Regions from separate parts of the Homo sapiens genome. Here region 2 is linked to region 1. Evidence: promoter capture Hi-C in 16 types of primary human blood cells and fetal thymus (Javierre and others, 2016). All regions are on one chromosome and are shown on one strand. The core of a region is centred on a gene start or on the middle of the fragment in contact, and the rest is flanking DNA. Distances in the headings are between cores, read along the strand shown. Region 1 holds the start of CRTC3 (CREB regulated transcription coactivator 3). Region 2 overlaps NGRN (neugrin, neurite outgrowth associated).

The links. The method cuts DNA at HindIII sites, captures the fragments that hold promoters and counts their contacts. A CHiCAGO score of 5 or more calls a contact.
Region 2: a contact is called between a fragment that was not itself captured here and the fragment with the promoter of CRTC3 in region 1, in 1 of 17 cell types (activated CD4 T cells). The highest score is 5.3, in activated CD4 T cells.

What each region holds. Positions count from the first base shown.
Region 1 is chr15:90,527,181-90,532,270 of GRCh38, forward strand. CRTC3 (CREB regulated transcription coactivator 3) reads left to right here and starts at 2,743. Exons shown (of 15, transcript NM_022769.5): 1 at 2,743-3,023. The coding sequence starts at 2,892. RefSeq lists silencers at 2,197-2,246, 2,347-3,096, 3,117-3,296 and an enhancer at 3,687-3,846. The HindIII fragment of the contact is 15,096 bases long and covers 1-5,090 here.
Region 2 is chr15:90,268,274-90,273,494 of GRCh38, forward strand. NGRN (neugrin, neurite outgrowth associated) reads left to right here. Exons shown (of 3, transcript NM_001033088.3): 3 at 2,915-3,938. The coding sequence ends at 3,515. Among named protein-coding and RNA genes, the nearest start is that of NGRN, 5.2 kb to the left of the region's middle. The HindIII fragment of the contact is 6,495 bases long and covers 1-5,126 here.

The DNA.
Region 1 (5,090 bases), core at 1,493-3,992:
TGCAGTGGTGTGATCTTGGCTGACTGCAACCTCCCCCTCCTGGATTTAAGCAATTCTCCTGCCTCAGCCTCCTGAGTAGCTGGGACTACAGGCACATGCCACCACACCTGGCTAATTTTTGTATTTTTAGTAGAGACAGGGTTTCACCATATTGGTCAGGGTGGTCTCAAACTCCTGACCTCAGGCGATCTGCCCGCCTTGGCCTCCCAAAATGCTGGGATTACAGGCGTGAGCCACTGCACCTGGCCGATGCTTGATATTTCTGCAGTGGCTTCTCATCATGATGATACCTGTATGGTTCAAGAGCTGGTAAGTGTAGAGACAGCTTTCCAATTTAGTAGATGGCTTCCTGATTTCAAAAGAGGCAGTGTCTCCTTTGGTGGCTCAGTATTGCAGCATAGCTCTCAAAGTCATTCCTCAAAGTTCAACCTGGAGTCGGTTGCTTCAGCCCTCCAAACAAGTCTGGAAGTCATTTTATACCCTGTAATATATTCTTTTGTACTTAAACCATCTAGAATGGTTCTGTTCTCTGAAACTTGACCCAAACAATGTAACAGAAAAGCAGAAATAAAATGTAAAGAAAAATGCTAGGCGCGGTGGCTCACGCCTGCAATCCCAGCATTTTGGGAAGCCGAGACAGGTGGATCACCTGTGATCAGCAGTTTGAGACCAGCCTGACCAACATGGTGAAACCTCGTCTCTACAAAAAATACAAAAAATTAGCCTGCGTGGTGGCGTGTACCTGTAATCCCAGCTACTCAGGAGGCTGAGGCAGGAGAATAGCTTGAACCCAGGAGGCAGAGATTGCAGTGAGCCGAGATTGCACCACTGCACTCCAGCCTGGGCGACAGAGCGCGACTCTGTCTTAAAAAAAAAAAAAAAAACTAGCCGGGCATGGTGGCGCAAGCCTGTAATCCCAGTTACTCGGGAGGCTGAGGCACAAGAATCACTTGAACTCAAGAGGCAGAGTTTGCAGTGAGCTGAGATCAGGCCACTGCACTCCAGCCTGGGTAACAGAGCAAGACTCCGTCTCAAAAACAAACCAACAACAAAAAAAAAGCATGGTAAATAACACAAAATACAACAGAAAAAAAAATCCAATTATAATTAATAAAAATAGCTAAATTCTAGCTAACAGAGATATATTTTCAGAATACATTTTCTAAAAAGTCCAGTTATAGGCTATGTCTGAGAGACAGGTGAAAAACATAATGGAATATTATCATATAAATGAATTGACACAAATATATCTCGAAAACATAATGGAGAATGAAAAAAGATGCAAAATGATTATTCAGTATGGTGTCATTTTTGTAAAGTTTAAAAACAAAATTAGGTATTCCATATAGCATTGCTGGATCTCTACATCATATGTAATAAAAGTATAAAAACACAAACTGGAATGATATGTACCAACTTGAGCACGGTGACTATCTGTGGGGCGGAAGAAGAAATGAGAGTGGGGCCGTCGTTATGACTAATTTTGTATGTCTTTAATAAATCCCAAGTACATGCAGCAAAATGTATTGATGTCTGTTTAATCTTGATAGTGGGGGGCGTGGGTAGTATTAATATTATTTTCCGTACTCTTCCGTAGGCCTCTAATATTTCCCTCTTTACAGAACACTGACACACGCTCAGGGCTCCCCGGGACATCTTTGTGCACATCAACATTTATGCTGAGAGTAGCTTCTGGACTCCAAAGAGGAAACTCCCCGGGCACTGTGGCCCACGCCTGTTATCCCAGCACTTTGGGAGGCTGAGGTGGGCAGATCGCTTGAGCCCAGGCGTTCGAGACCAGCCTGGGCAAAATAGCGAGACCCACCCCCGCCCCCCATTGCTACAAAAACATTTACAAACTAGCCGGGCGTGGTGACCCCCGCCTGTGGTCCCAGCTGGTCGGGAGGCTGAGGTGGGAGGATCTTTTGAGCCCGGGAGGTCAAGGCCGCGGTGAGTCGAGATCGCACCACTACACTCCAGACCGGGCGACAGAGAAAGACATCCATTCACTCCCCCAAAAGAAGGGGAAATTCGCTGAGGCTGAGCGCTGGTTTCCCAAGGTGGGGCTGGCACCTGCTGAAGCTGCCACAGGAGTGGAGAGGCCGTAGGGAGACTTGGAAAGAACCTGGAAAGGGGGCCGGGGCTATGGAGCCAAGGCTGCAGCAGGGCTGGATGGTGTTTGTAGTTTGTGCAGAATAGGAGGCAGTTTTTAAAGCCGAGATACAGCTCTGGTTGACTGGAGCGGGGAGGGGTGGGTGTGAGAGGTCAGGAAACCAGCGGCTGGAGGCCGGGGGCCTGGAGCGGCAGGGCTGGCGGGCAGACGTTAGGCCCCAGGCAAAATGGGCGCACCCCCTGCGGGGGCCCGAGGTGACCTGCTCGAGGTCCGGTCGCCCAGGTTCCACCTGGAGAAGAAAATCTTCGTAATTTGGCTGGGGGAGGGGGGATGCGGGCACAGGCTGTGTTCTCCACGTCGCGTAGACGCAGAGGCCATCCCTGGGTCGGAGAGTCTCCGTGGAGTGGCACCCCAGCGTTCCCCGTACGCCGGGGCCACTTTGTCGGGCTGACGGGGGTCCCTCCAGGTGGCCGCCGGCGGCGGGTCCCGAGCCAGACCGGGAAGCGGGGAGCAGCCCTCAGCCCGCGAGCGTGGGGCCGGGGCAGACTGGAGGCCGGGCGGGCCCCGCCGAGGGTGGGGCGGGGCCGGGCGCACGGGGGCGGACCTCGGCGCGCTCCCGGCCGCTCGCTGGCTCCGGGGCCGCGGCGGCTCCTCTGCCGGGTCGCGCCGGACGACTGGCTTCGGGCGGCGGCCCCGGCGGCCTGTGGACGGACGGGTGGGCCGAGGTACAGGCCCCACGGCCGCCGTCTCCCGCTTCTGCCCGCGCAGAGTCCGCGCCATGGCCGCCTCGCCGGGCTCGGGCAGCGCCAACCCGCGGAAGTTCAGTGAGAAGATCGCGCTGCACACGCAGAGACAGGCCGAGGAGACGCGGGCCTTCGAGCAGCTCATGACCGACCTCACCCTGTCGCGGGTGAGGGCCCGGGCCGGCGCGGGCGGGGGCGGCCACGGCCGCGGGCGGGACCCGCGCGGCGGGTGAGAGGTTGCGGGGCCAAGGCGATGGCGGGGCCGGGCGGGGGCCGCGCCCGGGAACCGGCGGCTGGGAGGGGGACCGGAGCGGCCGCGGCCTCGGCGTTTCCCCGCCTGGCGACACCCGCTAGCCGTTCGCGATCCCGGGCTGAGGTGGGAGGGTCGCCCGGCCCCGTGTGCGGGAAGATGGGCAGGGGTGAAGCCCGTGGAGGCGGGCGGCCGTGCGAGGGCGGCCTGAGGGGGAGGAGGACGAGGAGCCCCGAGAGGAAATCGCAAACAGCTCGGAGGCCGGCCGGGTGGCGCGGCGCGGCTTCTGGTCGCTCCGAACATCCCCCACCATCGAGCCCTGCTGTTCTGCCGGCGTGGAAGGCCGCGGGCACCCCAGGGTCCCACGCGCTCGTGGGGGGAGCTCTGTGCACAAGTCCATCCAGGGCCCGGCCCTGGGGTGGCTCGGGTTGTTGGAACCACGACGGGATTCCGTGTCGAGTGTGAGGCTCTGCTCCTTTTACTCCTTGGAGGTGCTTTATCGGGTCCAGTTTACTTTGTTCGGCCCGGGATATTTAGTGAGAACTGACAAGCGTCGCTGGTGACTGGAGAGGGACCTGGAGGAATGAGTAAGGCGCGAGCCGGGACAAACACCTGGAGAGGTTAGGTAACCGCTGAGTGAGGCAGTGGAGGATGGAGAGCCAACCGGAGTGTCCGCGCAGGGTTGCAGAGAAGGGGGGTCAGCAGGAGTGGGGCTGGCCTTGAGGATCCTGAATGCTGACCTTGGAGGACCATCGGGAGGATGGGGGAGGATCTGCAGATTCTGGGGGACTGAGGCGGGGGAGACAGTTTGAAGGAGAGCTGAGAGCAGAGTTGCAAACCAGCTGAGTTGCAGACACATTATTTTTTGGCCAGCGCAGTGTTTGGGAAAAATTATTGAATCTGTTGCCAGAATTTTTAAATTGGAAGACTTCCACACAAAATCCAAATTTCCGTATTATTTATTTATTATTATTTATATATGTTAAAAATTGGGAGACCTGGTAACACTAATTCTGAATTCCTACATGACAGCTACCGACCTGCTGGAGCTGGGTGATGATGAAAGGGAGCTGAGCTGAGCTCCCTTTCAAATGGAGTAAGAACTCTAGTTTGCCACCGTCCACTCTCTGTCACAGTCCCCCAAGGGGAGATTAGGTGACAGTTGCCATTTATACTCATGATGGTGTTTTCTTTCAGTGAAGTTAAGGAAAAAGTGAAATATTTCCTGTACTTACATTTCTGTTCACATTGAGAAAAAATATATATATAGAGAGAAAGAAGCTGAAGATTTCAAGAAAATGTTTTCTTATACCCTATCAGCTTCACTCATTTTTTACCTGCCTGGCATCCACTGGCATTTACATCTGTGACCTTGGTTAGATTCAGAGATGAACTCGATAAGCTCAGAGCACGTTGAAAAGAATGGGTGGGTGAAAGCTGAGGATTAGTGTTGGGGCCTGTGTTGTTATGTGTTTTTAAATACATACTGTACATTGTTTATGTACAAATACATGCACTGTATATGTCTGTATACCTATGGCGGATCCAATCTTTCACCCAATTCATGAATCTTCTTTAAAATATCCCTGACAGGTGAGGCCATGAGTAATGTACAGACTCTCTTTTAAAAGCAAAAATTTTTCACAGATCCTCACTGTTTACTTACTTTCAAGTAAAAAAAAAGTGTTTACTTACTTTAGAGACCCTGCTATAGCTCAGGGTCTCTTGAATTTAGCAAGCCTAATCAACTGTGGCCCATATGATAATTCAGTCACCACTTTATTCTAATTACTACAAAATTATGGTGTCATTTTGCCCTTCACCTGGTACAGGGAATCATTTACATATTAATTCTGCCCGTGTTTTCTTCTTGGCCAGTTACCAGTAAAGTAACACTGCTTGGCTCCACCGTGTTCATAAACACATCTGTAAATGATAACACTGAATTTGGCTACTAATGTTTGCTTATTTAAAAATCTTAAGG
Region 2 (5,221 bases), core at 629-3,128, 260 kb before region 1:
ATTACAGGCATGAGCCACCATGCCGGCCTCTATCTCCTGTCTTCAACAATAGCTTTTTCAAACCTTCCACCTTCCTACTTATCTCCCTTTATTGTGGTCAATAAATGTCCTTTTAAGAGGAAAAAAAAAAAACAGTCCATTAAGTAAAAACTTTCAGCTTCCTGGTCTTCCTCTTTGCCCACTACTCTCAAACTTATACTCTACTCCCATTTCAGAGGAAATGGGAGCCCTTCACTTGTCTGGGACCAATTCTCTGTATGCTTTAGGTCATATTTCTCCCTGCATAAGATTACTCAAGGACCTCTGTCCTCAACCTAAAGCTCTCTCTCATTCTTTTGTTCCCAGCTGGTTCCCAGGGTGCCTACCCTTTGTTTGTTTGTATCACTGCAATAAAACTGCTCTCCTTAAATCCATCAGTGACTTCCTCAGTGCTAGGCTCAAAAAGACACTTTGTAGTCCTTAGCGTCCTAAATAATTCAGCAGCATTTGCCCTTGTAAAAACTGCCTTTTAAATTAAAATATATATATATATTTTAAATAAAGACAGGATTTTGCCATGTTGCCCAACCTGGTCTCCAGTTTCTGAGCTCAAGCGATCTGCCTGCCTTGGCCTCCCAAAGTGTTAGGATTACAGGTGTGAGCTACTGCACCCAGCTGAAACTGCTTTCTCCCACCCCCCCCCCCCCATTATTTATTTATTGATTGACACTGATTCTCTCTTTTTTTTTTTTTTTTTTTTTTGAGACGGAGTCTCATTCTGCTGCCAGGCTGGAGTGCAGTGGCATGATCTTGGCTCACTGCAACCTCTGCCTCCTGGGTTCAAGTGATTGTCGTGCCTCAGCCTTCCAAGTAGATGGAATTACAGGTGCACACCACTATACCTGGCTAATTTTTTTTTTTTTTTTTTTTTTTTTGGATTTTTAGTAGAGGTTGGGTTCAGCGTGTTGGCCAGGCTGGTCTTGAACTCCTGACCTCAAGTGATCTGCCTGCCTTAGCCTCCCAAAAGTGCTGGGATTACAGGCGGGCGTGAGCCACCATACCCAGCCTTTTTTTATTTTTATTATTTTAATTTTACTTTAAGTTCTGGGGTACATGTGCAGAATGTGCAGGTTTGTTATATAGGTGTACATGTGCCATGGTGAACTGCTTTCTTAAAATTCTCTTCTCCCTTGACTCCAGGGTACCATTCCCTTCTGATCTTTTTTTCTTTGTTTCTAGGGCTGCTTTTCTCAGTTTCCTTCCTGGGCTCCTCTTCTACCTCCTATATCTTAAATATTGTTATTTCATAGAGTTCTGTCCTTGTCATTTTAGTTCACTCTGCATATTTCCCTGCCTGATGCTAGCCACTCAGTCACCCCTGCTATTGGCTTATGACTTCCAAATCTGTCATCTCCAGTTCATGTTTTTTTTCCTGAAATCTAAAGGCATATATTCAACTGTGTACCAGACATCTCTGTTTTGGATATCACAGTTTCCTCAAACTCAGCATGTACAAAATAGAATTCATCGTTGTTCCCTGACAACTTCATTCTGTTCCTGTTTTTCCTATAACCTACTGATTACCCAAGCTAAAATCCTGCATCTTGGCCTTGATGATGCTTCCCCCAATATTTAGTCCCTTAGTACCAAGTTGTACTATTTGACTTTCTTAAAATATTTCTCAACTCACTTTCCTCCTATGCTCCATTGACTGTCTCACTCGAGACTATCTGGATTACTGTAAAAGCCTCTTGACCAATCTTTCTGCCTATACTTTTGTCACTGAAAAACTACCACTAGGTTGAATTCCTTTTTTTCTTTTTTTAATAGAGATGGGATCTCCCTGTTTCCCAGGCTGGTCTCGAACTCCTGGGCTCAAGCAATCCTCCTGCCTCAGCCTCTCAAAGTGCTGGGAGTGAGCCATTGTGCCAGGCTGTAGGTTGAACTTCAAAATGAAAATTTATCTGTGGCATTCCACTGCTTAAAATTTTTCCTTGACTTGCTGTTGCCTTGGGATAAACTCCAGACCCCTAAGTGTGATCTACTTCTTACCCTCACTGTCAGTTGAGTTATTCCCAACAAAGGTGATGTGCCGCTTTACATTTCACAAGCTCTTCACTTTATCATCAGTATCTTTCATCTCTCCTTCTCTCCTCCCTTCTGCCAGCTTATTACTCCTTTCATCCTTTCAGACCAACTCTAGCTTGGACTTCATGAAGCAATTCCTGGGCCTGGCTATAAGTGTTCTTATTCCCTATATCTGGGTCTCCCTCCTGGGGTGCTGTCTTTGCATCCTGTGCTATAACCTTTACCATAATGTCATTTATTTTGTCTGTCCCCACTCCCAAACTATGTAATGGGAAGGTCAGTCCTCCTGCGTCCCCAGGATCTATTGTGGTATTAGATGTCAGTGAGAGGAGCTGAGTTGATGTGAAATGAAGTGACCTGACTGACAGTGGTCAGGTGTTGCTGTTGACACACAGAAATGGAACACAGCCATTTAACTAGCACAAGATAGGGACTAGCACAAGATTTAGCTAGCACAAGATAGGGACTACATTTGCGGTTTTTCAAGCTCTCTTTTTTTGTTTTTTTGGGAGAGTCTCACTCTGTTGCCCAGGCTGGAGTGCAGTGGTGCAGTGGTGCAATCTCGGCTCACCGCAGCCTTCACCTCCCAGGTTCAAGTGATTCTTGTGCCACGTGGTAGCTCATGCCTGTAATCCCAGCTACTTCGGAGGCTCAGGCACAAGAATCACTGGTCTCGAACTCCTGGGCTCAAGTGATCCGCCTATCTCGGCCTCTCAGAGTTCTGGGATTACAGGTGTGAGCCACCATGCCAGGCCTCAACCCCTCTTCTTTATCATAGGTATTGCGAGTTAGATGTTCTGATAGGAGACTTCTTCACAACTTGCAAACCTGCTCCTTCTTCCCGTAGGTATTTACATGAGGAATTTCCAGAGTCCTGGTCAGTTCCCAGGTTGGCTGAAGGCTTTGATGTCAGCACTGATGTGATCCGAAGAGTTTTAAAAAGCAAGTTTTTACCCACATTGGAGCAGAAGCTGAAGCAGGATCAAAAAGTCCTTAAGAAAGCTGGGCTTGCCCACTCGCTGCAGCACCTCCGGGGCTCTGGAAATACCTCAAAGCTGCTCCCTGCAGGCCACTCTGTATCAGGCTCTTTGCTTATGCCAGGGCATGAAGCCTCATCTAAAGACCCAAATCACAGCACAGCTTTGAAAGTGATAGAGTCAGACACTCACAGGACAAATACACCAAGGAGAAGGAAGGGAAGAAATAAAGAAATCCAGGACCTGGAGGAGAGCTTTGTGCCTGTTGCTGCACCCCTAGGTCATCCAAGAGAGCTGCAGAAGTACTCCAGTGATTCTGAGAGCCCCAGAGGAACTGGCAGTGGTGCGTTGCCAAGTGGTCAGAAGCTGGAGGAGTTGAAGGCAGAGGAGCCAGATAACTTCAGCAGCAAAGTAGTGCAGAGGGGCCGAGAGTTCTTTGACAGCAACGGGAACTTCCTGTACAGAATTTGAGTCGGGGCTTGGCTTATGGAGATGCCTCGTGAAACACAGCTGGGCAAGTATTAATGTATATGGAACAGCCTGGATTTCTGCATATGGATAAGCCACCTTGGAATAGGAAGAGGTGTTGAGCCTGGACTGTGGGAGGAAAGAGCTGCGTGGATAGATTCAAACTTCCTGTGGTAGTGCTCCCAGTCTGACCTCTGTAGACCTTCAGTACTCACTCTTCTTGCTTAGGCTCTCTGTGTGTTGAAAGCCATCCCGTGTTGCATGTGTTGTTACAATTTTCTGTGATACTTGCAATTTATGTTTGAGAAGAAGTGAAAAGTTTGCCTTCTGACCTCATTTCCTTCTTGATCAGTGAACACTAACATTTTGGGGACAACTTAGTCAATTGGTTTTCCTTACAACAAAATAAAGTAAAATGTAGCAGTCTGCCTCTTTGGTGCTCTTTGGGGTGGGATGGTTTACCTGTGAACCTTGGAGAGAGGGAAGGACAAAGGCAGAAAGGAAGGATCCCTGGTCAGTAAACATTGGGAGAGAGATGGAACCAGAGGAATTTCCCAGCAAAGGGCTCTGTGCAGAGCATCCTGCTTAGTGAGGGATTCTGACAACTGAAAACTGGACGCCTTTCTTTTAGTTGCTGGGGTTCTGGCAGAGATTGGGAAATGAGGGGTTGGCAGAAAATACAAAGCAGGCAAAGGCTTTAGGGCCCTTATAATCTCCAGCCACATTTTAAAGTTTATATTAAGAGCTGGGCATGGCAGAATGTGCCTACAGTCCCAGTTACTTGGGAGGCCGAGGTGGGAGAATCGCTTGAGCCTCGGAGGTTGAGGCTGCAGTGAGCTATGATTGCACCACTGCACTCCAGCCTGGGATAACAGTGAGACCCCCATCTCTAAATAAAATCAATCGATCTTCAATTATGTCTCATTATACAGTTTACTTAACCAGATTTTTACAATGGTGCCATGGTGTAGGCAATCCCGGATTAAGAGGTCCCTTTTACAAATAAGGAAATAGACTTTAAGATGGCTGCCAGTAAGTGGCAGTGCTGGGACTTAACTCGGGTCTCATCATTAATCCAGGGCTTCTGGAATTCCGGGAATATGGCACTGTCTGCCATAATTTTGTTAATTTACTGCTTGTTTTAGAAATACATCTGTTATAACTAGAAATTCGGGGACAGCTTAGTCAATTTGTTTTCCTTACAAGCAAAATAAAGTAAAATGTAGCAGTCTGCTCATTAGTGCTCTGGTGGGATGGTTTACCTGTGAACCTTGGAGAACCATGTCCTGCTTTCACAATTTACCAGGAAAAATGGCTACTCCGAATTTAAATATATGTAGGACATTAATGGAAACACCTACATTCCAACTCAGTCATTGCCACTCTGTAGAATCTTACTGCTATTTCAAATGTCCAATTACAGCAATTAAAATACTGATTACTGTTGCTTTTATCAATTATTATTGATAACTTGAGGATCTGTTCTCAGTATAAATGACAAAGCCCTGTCACATGCCAAGCAAAATTCTACGATCCAGATGCTGGTAATACAACAGTGGGCAGATAGGACCTTTGCTGTCACTGCCCTGTCACTATCATGTAGTTCATAGTAGAAGCTTATCAGTATTTTTATGGTTTTGTTATATTTATGGTATTTAATTGTTAAAGATGTGTTAGATGCTGTTTGATTGTTTAAATTTGCATTTCTC